3 separate regions of the Homo sapiens genome follow, and regions 1 and 3 are each linked to region 2. The links are contacts of gene promoters, found by promoter capture Hi-C in human tissues and cell types (Jung and others, 2019). All regions are on one chromosome and are shown on one strand. The core of a region is centred on a gene start or on the middle of the fragment in contact, and the rest is flanking DNA. Distances in the headings are between cores, read along the strand shown.

The links. The method cuts DNA at HindIII sites, captures the fragments that hold promoters and counts their contacts. A contact is called where the count stands out against the background at its distance.
Region 1: a contact is called between a fragment that was not itself captured here and the fragment with the promoter of FOXA2 in region 2, in 1 of the 25 tissues and cell types used here (lymphoblastoid cells).
Region 3: a contact is called between the fragment with the promoter of GZF1 here and the fragment with the promoter of FOXA2 in region 2, in 1 of the 25 tissues and cell types used here (liver).

What each region holds. Positions count from the first base shown.
Region 1 is chr20:23,330,107-23,332,806 of GRCh38, reverse strand. The region is part of intron 1 of NXT1-AS1 (NXT1 antisense RNA 1); the gene reads left to right. It overlaps LOC105372571 (a long non-coding RNA gene), which reads left to right. Exons shown (of 3, transcript XR_937379.3): 1 at 1-240. Among named protein-coding and RNA genes, the nearest start is that of NXT1, 19 kb to the left of the region's middle. The HindIII fragment of the contact is 6,519 bases long and covers 1-2,700 here.
Region 2 is chr20:22,583,285-22,586,006 of GRCh38, reverse strand. FOXA2 (forkhead box A2) reads left to right here and starts at 1,435. Exons shown (of 2, transcript NM_021784.5): 1 at 1,435-1,815. The coding sequence starts at 1,729. RefSeq lists an enhancer at 650-1,405. The HindIII fragment of the contact is 10,630 bases long and covers 1-2,722 here.
Region 3 is chr20:23,360,789-23,363,488 of GRCh38, reverse strand. GZF1 (GDNF inducible zinc finger protein 1) reads right to left here and starts at 1,307. Exons shown (of 6, transcript NM_022482.5): 1 at 1,252-1,307. RefSeq lists silencers at 1,022-1,511, 1,932-2,021 and an enhancer at 1,582-1,841. The HindIII fragment of the contact is 9,373 bases long and covers 1-2,700 here.

The DNA of each region.
Region 1 (2,700 bases), core at 157-2,656, 750 kb before region 2:
ATATATTGCTTACACAGAAACCAGTTACTCAAAGAGCTATGCTGTTCTTATGCCCTGTGATGGATCTACTGGGGATAGAGATAAGAGCCTGTCTGCCTGCCTCAGCCTGTGCACCTGATCGTTCTTTTCCTGAAGCAACTTGTCATGCCTTCACAGTGCACACCTGACCAGTTCCAAACCAAAAAGGGATGTGCCTGGACGTGTGTGGATAGATGGCTGAGGGAGACATTATTGTTGTTGGTGAGTGAAATTGTTCTTTCTTCCTGGGTCTGGCATTTTATTTGAATGATTCTTTAGAAATTATTTAAAAATTTTCTGCCAGGCAAAAGTTTGTGCAAATGTCAACAAATAGCTTACCCTTACCCAAAAAAGGTGAGATTTGAGGTCTGGAAGTTTATGTAGTAAGGAAGACGCTAATTCTTATGGTTTTAAGATTTATAATGAGAAGTAATGGGGATTTGTCAGCATTGAATTGTGGGGTTTTTAATGAAGCTATTGTGAGAGAAAGATGAATTGACGATCTCAGGATTGAGTCCCTCCTGAAGGAACTTGGTTGGTCAGATATGGCTCTAGTGAACATCTGAGAAACAGAAAAGAAGACTTGAATGTGGTCCTTTCTGTTCTGATACTGTTATCGTCCCAGTCAGTCATGCGTAAAACATCAGCTTAGTCACTTCTTCCTCTTCCCTTTCCAGTCCCTGCCATGGGTCTCTTTTAGTATTTTCCAGTAAACTTTGCTTAGAAAAAACACCAATAAAAATCCTTGCAAATGAAATCATCAGACCCTGAAGAAGTAGCATCTTCTCTAGGGATTGATTCCTTTTCTCCTTCTAACACCACTAATACCTCCCTTGGCCAGCCACTGACACCCTTTTGAGGACTGTATTTTTGGCTTGAAAATTGGCCTGTCAGTAAATTCGAAGGGGTGTGTATTGTTCCAGGGTTGATGTATTATAACTCTGCAGGTGCCCTGCCCAATTCATTTTACTGAGTGGTCACACCCCCAGCTGTTGTGTGTGCTGGCTGGAAATAGCCACATTACAAACATGGTGCCTGTGAGTCAAGGTGGATCAATGCCACAGTGCAGCCCCTGCTCCAGAGCCCCCAGCGGGGCCAGGCTGAGGTGTGACTGCAGCGGATATGAGGCCATCTCACTCCTTCCCTGACTTGTTCTGCTTCCCTCCGTCTCTTCCTCCTGAGTCCTCCCTCCAGTCATGGGCACCCACACCCCTCTCTCTGGCTCTGCTTCTACAAGACCTGACTCGAGGCTCTGCCTTTACACTTGGATTACTGCAAGTGCCTCCATCCTTCTTTGATCTTCTCCAGGTGTCCAGCACCCCCTCCCCTTAGTGCATATTACATAAACTGCTGGACTTAGCTTCCTAAAATGCAGCTCCTGCATATGTCCTTGTTCCTGAATATCTATGGCATTGGTTCTCAAACTTGTGTGCAACCACAAGCAAACAAATAATGCAAGTTTGCTCAAAATGTTGAACTCAAGACCCATCTCTAGTGTTTTGATTCAGTCCATCTGAGCAGGACCTGGGAATGTGAACTTCCACAAGCCCCCACTCCCACCCTAGGTGATTTGTATTTTGAGAAATATACTTTAACACTGATTCTTTCCTGATTCCTATTCAAGTTCTGAAACTGTTTTGATTTCCTTTCTGGAGCATCTTTGAGGTGAGTTTATACAACTCTTTCATCTTTGTGGGAGACAAGCTTGGCCCTATCTCTGAGTATAAGTAATCCTATGTCATAAATATTCGATAAGGAAGAAAGGAAGAAAAGAGAGAAAAAAATAAGGCCAGGAAAGGGGCAGTTGTAGCATGTATGTGGGTGATCATCCTGGGATATGGTGGGTTACCCAGAATGCTACTACACTTGGTACAGTAGTCAGGGTTCTCCAGGGAAACAGAATCAGTAGGATAGTGGAGATATAAATCTATATATCTTCAATGTGTGCTGTTATATATAATATATAATAATAATGTGACAAATTATATGAATATAAATTATAAATGTAAGAATTATATGAATAAATATATTTCCAGATATATATCTAGAAAAAGGAGATTTATTATAAGCCATTGGCTCACATGATTATGGGGGTCAAGAAGTCCTACAATTTGCCATCTGCAAGCTGGGGATTCAGGAAGCCTAGTGCTGTAGTTCAAAGGCCCAAGAACTGGAGAGCCAATGGTGTGGATTCCAGTCCAGTCTGAAAGCCTGAGGACTAGAAGCGCAGAGGGCAGAAGATCCATGTCCCAACTCAAGCAGTCAGGCAGTTCTTCCACCCAAGAACTCAGAAGCCAATGTGCTAAGACCTGGCTGAGACTGGAGACCCGAGAACCAAGAGCTTCAATGTCTGAGGATGGGAGAAGATGGATGGCCCAGTTTCAGAAGAGAAAGCGTTTGCCCTTCCTCTGCCTTTTTGTTTTATTCTGGCTCTCAACAGATTGAATGATGCCCATCCACACGGGGGGGAGAGCCATCGGCTTTACTCAGTCCACCAATTCAAATGCTGGTCTCTTCTGGAAACAGCTTCACAGATACACAAGAAACCACGTTTAACCAGCTATCTGGGCACCCTGTGACCCAGTCAAGTTGACACACAAAACAACCATCACACTTGGTGAAGTTTTATTATATCCTTGACTTGTGTGTGCTGGACTGTTGAGAATAGGGTGCAGCCATGCA
Region 2 (2,722 bases), core at 186-2,685:
ACTCAAGCTTCAATGCGAAGCTCCGTGTCTGCCATCTCGCCTGTCTTCTGCCACCATCGCCCCCAATTTTGGACAGGTGGGCTGGATGCCCACTAGTTCCTATGCATTCTCTGTGTCTGAGGGGGTGGGTACAGGGCTGGATCCCCAAGGTCCAGCCAGGTTTTCAGAACCAAGAAAGAGCCTCCACATCCAAACACCTGCAATATCCCCCCACTCCAAATCTGGGCTCACAGGCTAACCCAGAACAGAAGACAATTTTTGAACCCAAGAGCTGCTGGGGAAATAAAAGTATACGATTGCTGGAGTTTCTAATTTCTATTAAGCAGTCCCTCTGGAAGACAGAGAGGACAGAGACGCTCTTGAAGTCAACTCCATATGCCCCATCATTGATTCCTGGATTCTTCTCTCCTCACCCCTCCCTCCCCACCTCCTGCCCTGTTTGTTTTAGTTACGAAATGCTGTGGGCACCTCGGTTGTGACTGAAAAGTAACCTTGAAACACGCCGGCCTGAATATCAGAGACAAATCTCAGCCTCCCAACCGTCGGCCGCTGCTAGAGGGGCTGCTTGCGCCAGGCGCCGGCCGCCCCACTGCGGGTCCCTGGCGGCCGGTGTCTGAGGAGTCGGAGAGCCGAGGCGGCCAGACCGTGCGCCCCGCGCTTCTCCCGAGGCCGTTCCGGGTCTGAACTGTAACAGGGAGGGGCCTCGCAGGAGCAGCAGCGGGCGAGTTAAAGGTGTGTACGTAGTTTTTCTAAATAGGACAGCGCTTTGCAAATTGGCTGTCATGGACTTGCTGTTTTGACAGAGAATGAGCACTGAGAGCGAAGAAACCCGGCATAAATAAATCCGGCTTTCATAGGGATCTGCCGGGCACTGAGGCTGGACGCGCCCTCCGACAGGCGCACCGGGCGCCCGGCGCGATGAGACGGGGCGGGGGCTGGAGGCCGGAGCCGCCCCAGAGGGTGGTTTCCTCCCAGGTCCCTCCTTCCTCAGGGGACTCGCTGTGGACCCGGGAGGAAAGGGGGCTCGACCAGGGATCCCGCGTGCCCGATCGCCCGCCCAGCCCGCTCCCCTGGCCCGCCCAGGAGTGCGGGGCGCCGCGGCGGTGGGGCGGACGGCAGGCGCTGAGGGGCAGGTGCGGAGCGCCGGCTGCGGCTACCTCTCACCTAGGTGTGAGCTGATTATTCAAATGGGCTGCCCCGGGTCTGGGGATTGGAGGCCCGCGCCAGCGCGCCGCGCTATATCACCAGCCTCCCACGTCACTGCGGCACTTGTCCGCTCCGCGGTCCACACCTCCTCCTCCTCCTCCTCCTCCTCCTCCTCCTCCTCCTCCTCCACCACCACCACCGCCTCCTCCTCCTCCTTCCTCCTCCTCCTCCCCACCCCCCCACTAGCCCCCGCGCCGCGCGCTTCCCGCCGCCTCGGGGCAGCTCGGCACTGCCAACCTCAGCCGCCACCCGGCAGCCCGTGAGCGCGGCGGCGGCGGGTGCTCCCTACCGCGGGGCGCTGGCCTGGGCCTCCTCCGCTCCTCGCCCCCCCCCACCTCCCGCCCACTTCCAACTACCGCCTCCGGCCTGCCCAGGGAGAGAGAGGGAGTGGAGCCCAGGGAGAGGGAGCGCGAGAGAGGGAGGGAGGAGGGGACGGTGCTTTGGCTGACTTTTTTTTAAAAGAGGGTGGGGGTGGGGGGTGATTGCTGGTCGTTTGTTGTGGCTGTTAAATTTTAAACTGCCATGCACTCGGCTTCCAGTATGCTGGGAGCGGTGAAGATGGAAGGGCACGAGCCGTCCGACTGGAGCAGCTACTATGCAGAGCCCGAGGTAAGCGCTCGTCTTTTCCAGGGGGAAGTGGAGCGGCGGCGCTCGCTCCTTCCCCAACCTCAGGACCGCTTCCCTCGCTGGCACCCCCCCACCCCGCCCCACAACCCCAGCCTTTCTGGGCAGCCGCCTTTTCCGCCCTCCTTGGAATCAAATGGGTCTCTTTTTTATACGACACACTGTTAGCCTTGAGATAATATTAACTTTGTGATCAAATATTGACTTGCGGCGCCTCCAAATCCTCTTCGTGGCCGAGCCACGCACTATCCTAACAGAGTTATGTTTGGCAGCGCGCGGCTGGGGAGGGGTGGGAGGTCGGCCGGCGAGGGGGTGGGGAGCTGAGGAGGAGAAGATGGGTAGGAGTTGGGGGCTGAAGTGGAGGCAGAGTCAAAGACTAGTGGACAAAGAGAAAGAAAGTTTTTGCCTGCAAAGCTCAGCCGCGTGTGGTTCAGGTCTCGGTTCTTTCCCTATTGCCCCGTTCAGTGCCTCCAGCCGCCCCCGCACTCCGCACAGGCACTGCCTTGCAGTTTCCCTGGGACAAGGGAGGGGGTCCCTGGAGGGAGACCGGACAGAGGGGGCCCGGGACAGTCTTCGCTGGAGGCAGCCCGAGGCGCCCCGCGCGTTGTCCCGCAGGTTGCTTGCTGCGACCGGAGGTGGCGTCCGGGGACTTCGGGCCTCGGCGCCAGCTCAGTATGCTGGTGGGAGAGTTTGGGGAGACTCTGGGGTAGGGGAATGTATTTGGGGTGCTGGCTTGGGAGTACTCCATGGGACCCCTGTTCTAGAATCTGGGCGAGGTGGAGAAGGGCTAGGAACGGGCCACATGCCCAAGCAGCAATCCGCTCGCCACCTTCCCAAGGGCGATCGATCATGACTCTCCCTGAATGAAACAGACTCGGAGTCCGGAGACTGG
Region 3 (2,700 bases), core at 58-2,557, 780 kb before region 2:
CAAAGGCAAAGGGCTATCTTTAGCCCCTAAATCTTTCCACTGCAGCGGGCATGCAAATTTCACCAACCCCACCTAAGGCCTCCAGATACCGTCACCCCATCGTCATTTCTGCTGCTTTGCCACAAACTCCCTGAATGTGTTTTCTCCCTGCCCTTCAGCTCCTGAATCTACCTTCCTCTTTGATTCCTGTTTCCATCCATCCAAAGCACATGCCTTCCTTCTAGCCTCCTTCGGCCAGACCACAGATGTCACCTCGGATTCAACGTGTCTAGAAAAAAAGTTGTCATCATCTTCCCTGATAAACTAGTCCCACCCCTCTCCCCTTCTCCAGTCTCATCAATGAGACCGCTCCCCACAACTAGCAGTCCCTCAAACATGGAAAAGACTGCCCTCTGGGAGTTCCGCTGTAAACAGGTACCTATGAGGCTTGATCAATGTCGCCTGAAGGAGACGCCCCAGTAAAACTGTGAGAACACTGACAAAGCCTAAGGAAGGGATCTATAAGAGTGGGGCTCTTATAGAGCCACTGGGGTTTCAGTGGTCCCAGCCCCAGCCTGGGGAAACAAGACTGCAGAGGGCTCTCTCAGCCTGATGCCCTGACTTCCCCAGACCTCTGCCAACAGGGCCCTCGAGGAGACCTGATTTCTCAATCAACAAAGTGGGTTCTGAGCGCGATTTCCTATGTTGCTTGGCTACTGGAGTGCAGGCACTGGAGGTGGCGACAGGGCAGTCTGCGGCCGGTGACAGCTGCGTATCCGCCGAATCTCATTGGCATTCCGGCCGCCTCCCAGTGCGCCCGGCATCTGCACCAACGTCGGCGGCCCCTGAATCCCCGAGGCTCACGGGGCCAGAGCCCTTCCAGGAGACGCTGCTACCCGCAGCCCAGTCCACGGCCACAAGGGCCGGGGTTTCCAGTGGGGCTTAAATCCGCCGCTGTCCTCGCCGCCCTCACGGCACCTCCCACCCTTCCCGCGCCACTTGGCCGCCCCAGCGCCCGGACGCCGCTCGGCCACTCCAAAGACGACCCAGAGAACAAACTACTGCAGCCACAGAGAAGCCCCTCCTCGGCCCGACGCGCCGCCTCCCGACGCGGGCATCCGGGGCCGCGTGGATCAGGCCCTCGGGCCGCCCCCTGCCCCCGCTCCCGCATCCCCGAGACGCGCAGGTCCACAGAGCAGCCGGGGCGCGCGGACAAAGAGGCGGCGGCGGGCGGCGAGGGGCCGGAGCCAGGCCTACGGGCCGCGCACTCACCTCCCAGCCGGCGCCCCCGCTGCAGCCGCTGTCCGCTGGACCAGGCCGGTAGGAACGGCCGGCCCGGCTGGGCGTGGCGTAGCACCCTGCGCGGGCACCGCCGATTGGTCGCTGCAGGCCCCTCCCCTCCCGCGGCCGGCCCCGCCCCTGGCGGGGCTGAGGAAGGGGCTGAGCCACACGTCGGGCGGCGGAGCGGTTCGGGCAGTTACCTGATCTGGCCGCGCGACTGACTGGCGACGCCGGATTGCGTCACCCGCCGCATTGCGTCACCCGCCGCGAGCCAAGGCCTGCGCCTGCGCAGGAGACAGCGACGTCTGCGCTGCGGCACGCCACAGGGGGGCGGGGCCAGTCGCGAAAAGTCACGTGAGCGTCAGATTCGCGTGGTCACTTTCGCGTCCATTCCGGGCTTCTGGCCGCAAGGCGCCAGCGCTTCCGGGCCCCAGCAGCCTGCGGTCAGGGCCTGCAGCTGGCTTCCCACTAAGAGCTGCTCACGTCCCCGAGGCCGAGCGCACCCTTAGGGCACGGTGGCCACGCGAGGGACCTCGCGGAAAGCCGGGCTTGGAGCTGGTACTCACCTTGGCTACTAGGGGCGCAGATGCCTCCACGGGCGCTGGAGAACTGGCGCCAGGCGGGGCTCGGCGCGGCGCTCTCCTCTGGGGCGCTTCTTCCGCGGTGCCCCCGCCCTGCTGGGGGGCTCGGCGCGCCAGGAGCCGGGACCGCACCCTGCCGTCTTTACTGCAGGGCTTTATTTCCAGGAGTTCCCATTCGGGCGAAAGCTTTGTTCACTACAGAACTTCCCCAGAGACCCATCCACTCTTCGGGGAAAGCACAATTGATTCCCTAAGATTCGCTGACTCCTCGAAATCTTGCTGTTTCCACCAATTCTTGCTCAATACTAACTAAAGCCCGCTTTGAAACACCTTCCTTGAGTCAGACTTCCAGTTCTCAATAAACTGACCTTGCCTTTTGCTCCCAGCCATTGGTAAAGCTTTGCCAGGTCATGCTGTCCCTTACTGTGGCCAGCAGTTAACTCAGCCTTGTCTTACCGACACGTTGAGTTTGTAATGTTTGGGGACTGTCAGGACAAATACAAATTTAAAATAAGGTTTACTACTTCCTGTTGAAAATATGAGATTTCCCTCCCTTTTTCTTCGAACATTTACTTTTAGAAAATTGGTAATTAGTGTAAGTACTTTTTCCTCTCTTTGAAATATATAAATCCTTTTGAAGACTAGTTAGGCCTTTTTGTGCGCTTTATAACCTAGATATGTCTTTTTCTAGGACCTAGGAGCCATCTCTTTAAGTATCAAGGGAGTTAATGCCCCTGTCTCCCAGTTTTAATGGGGGAGTAGGAGCCTAACTTCAGTGGGCCCTTTGCTCCAACTTACAAAATTATCTCATATCATAAAGATACAAGTTTCTTTTTCCTCTAGATAAAGCCAATTGGCT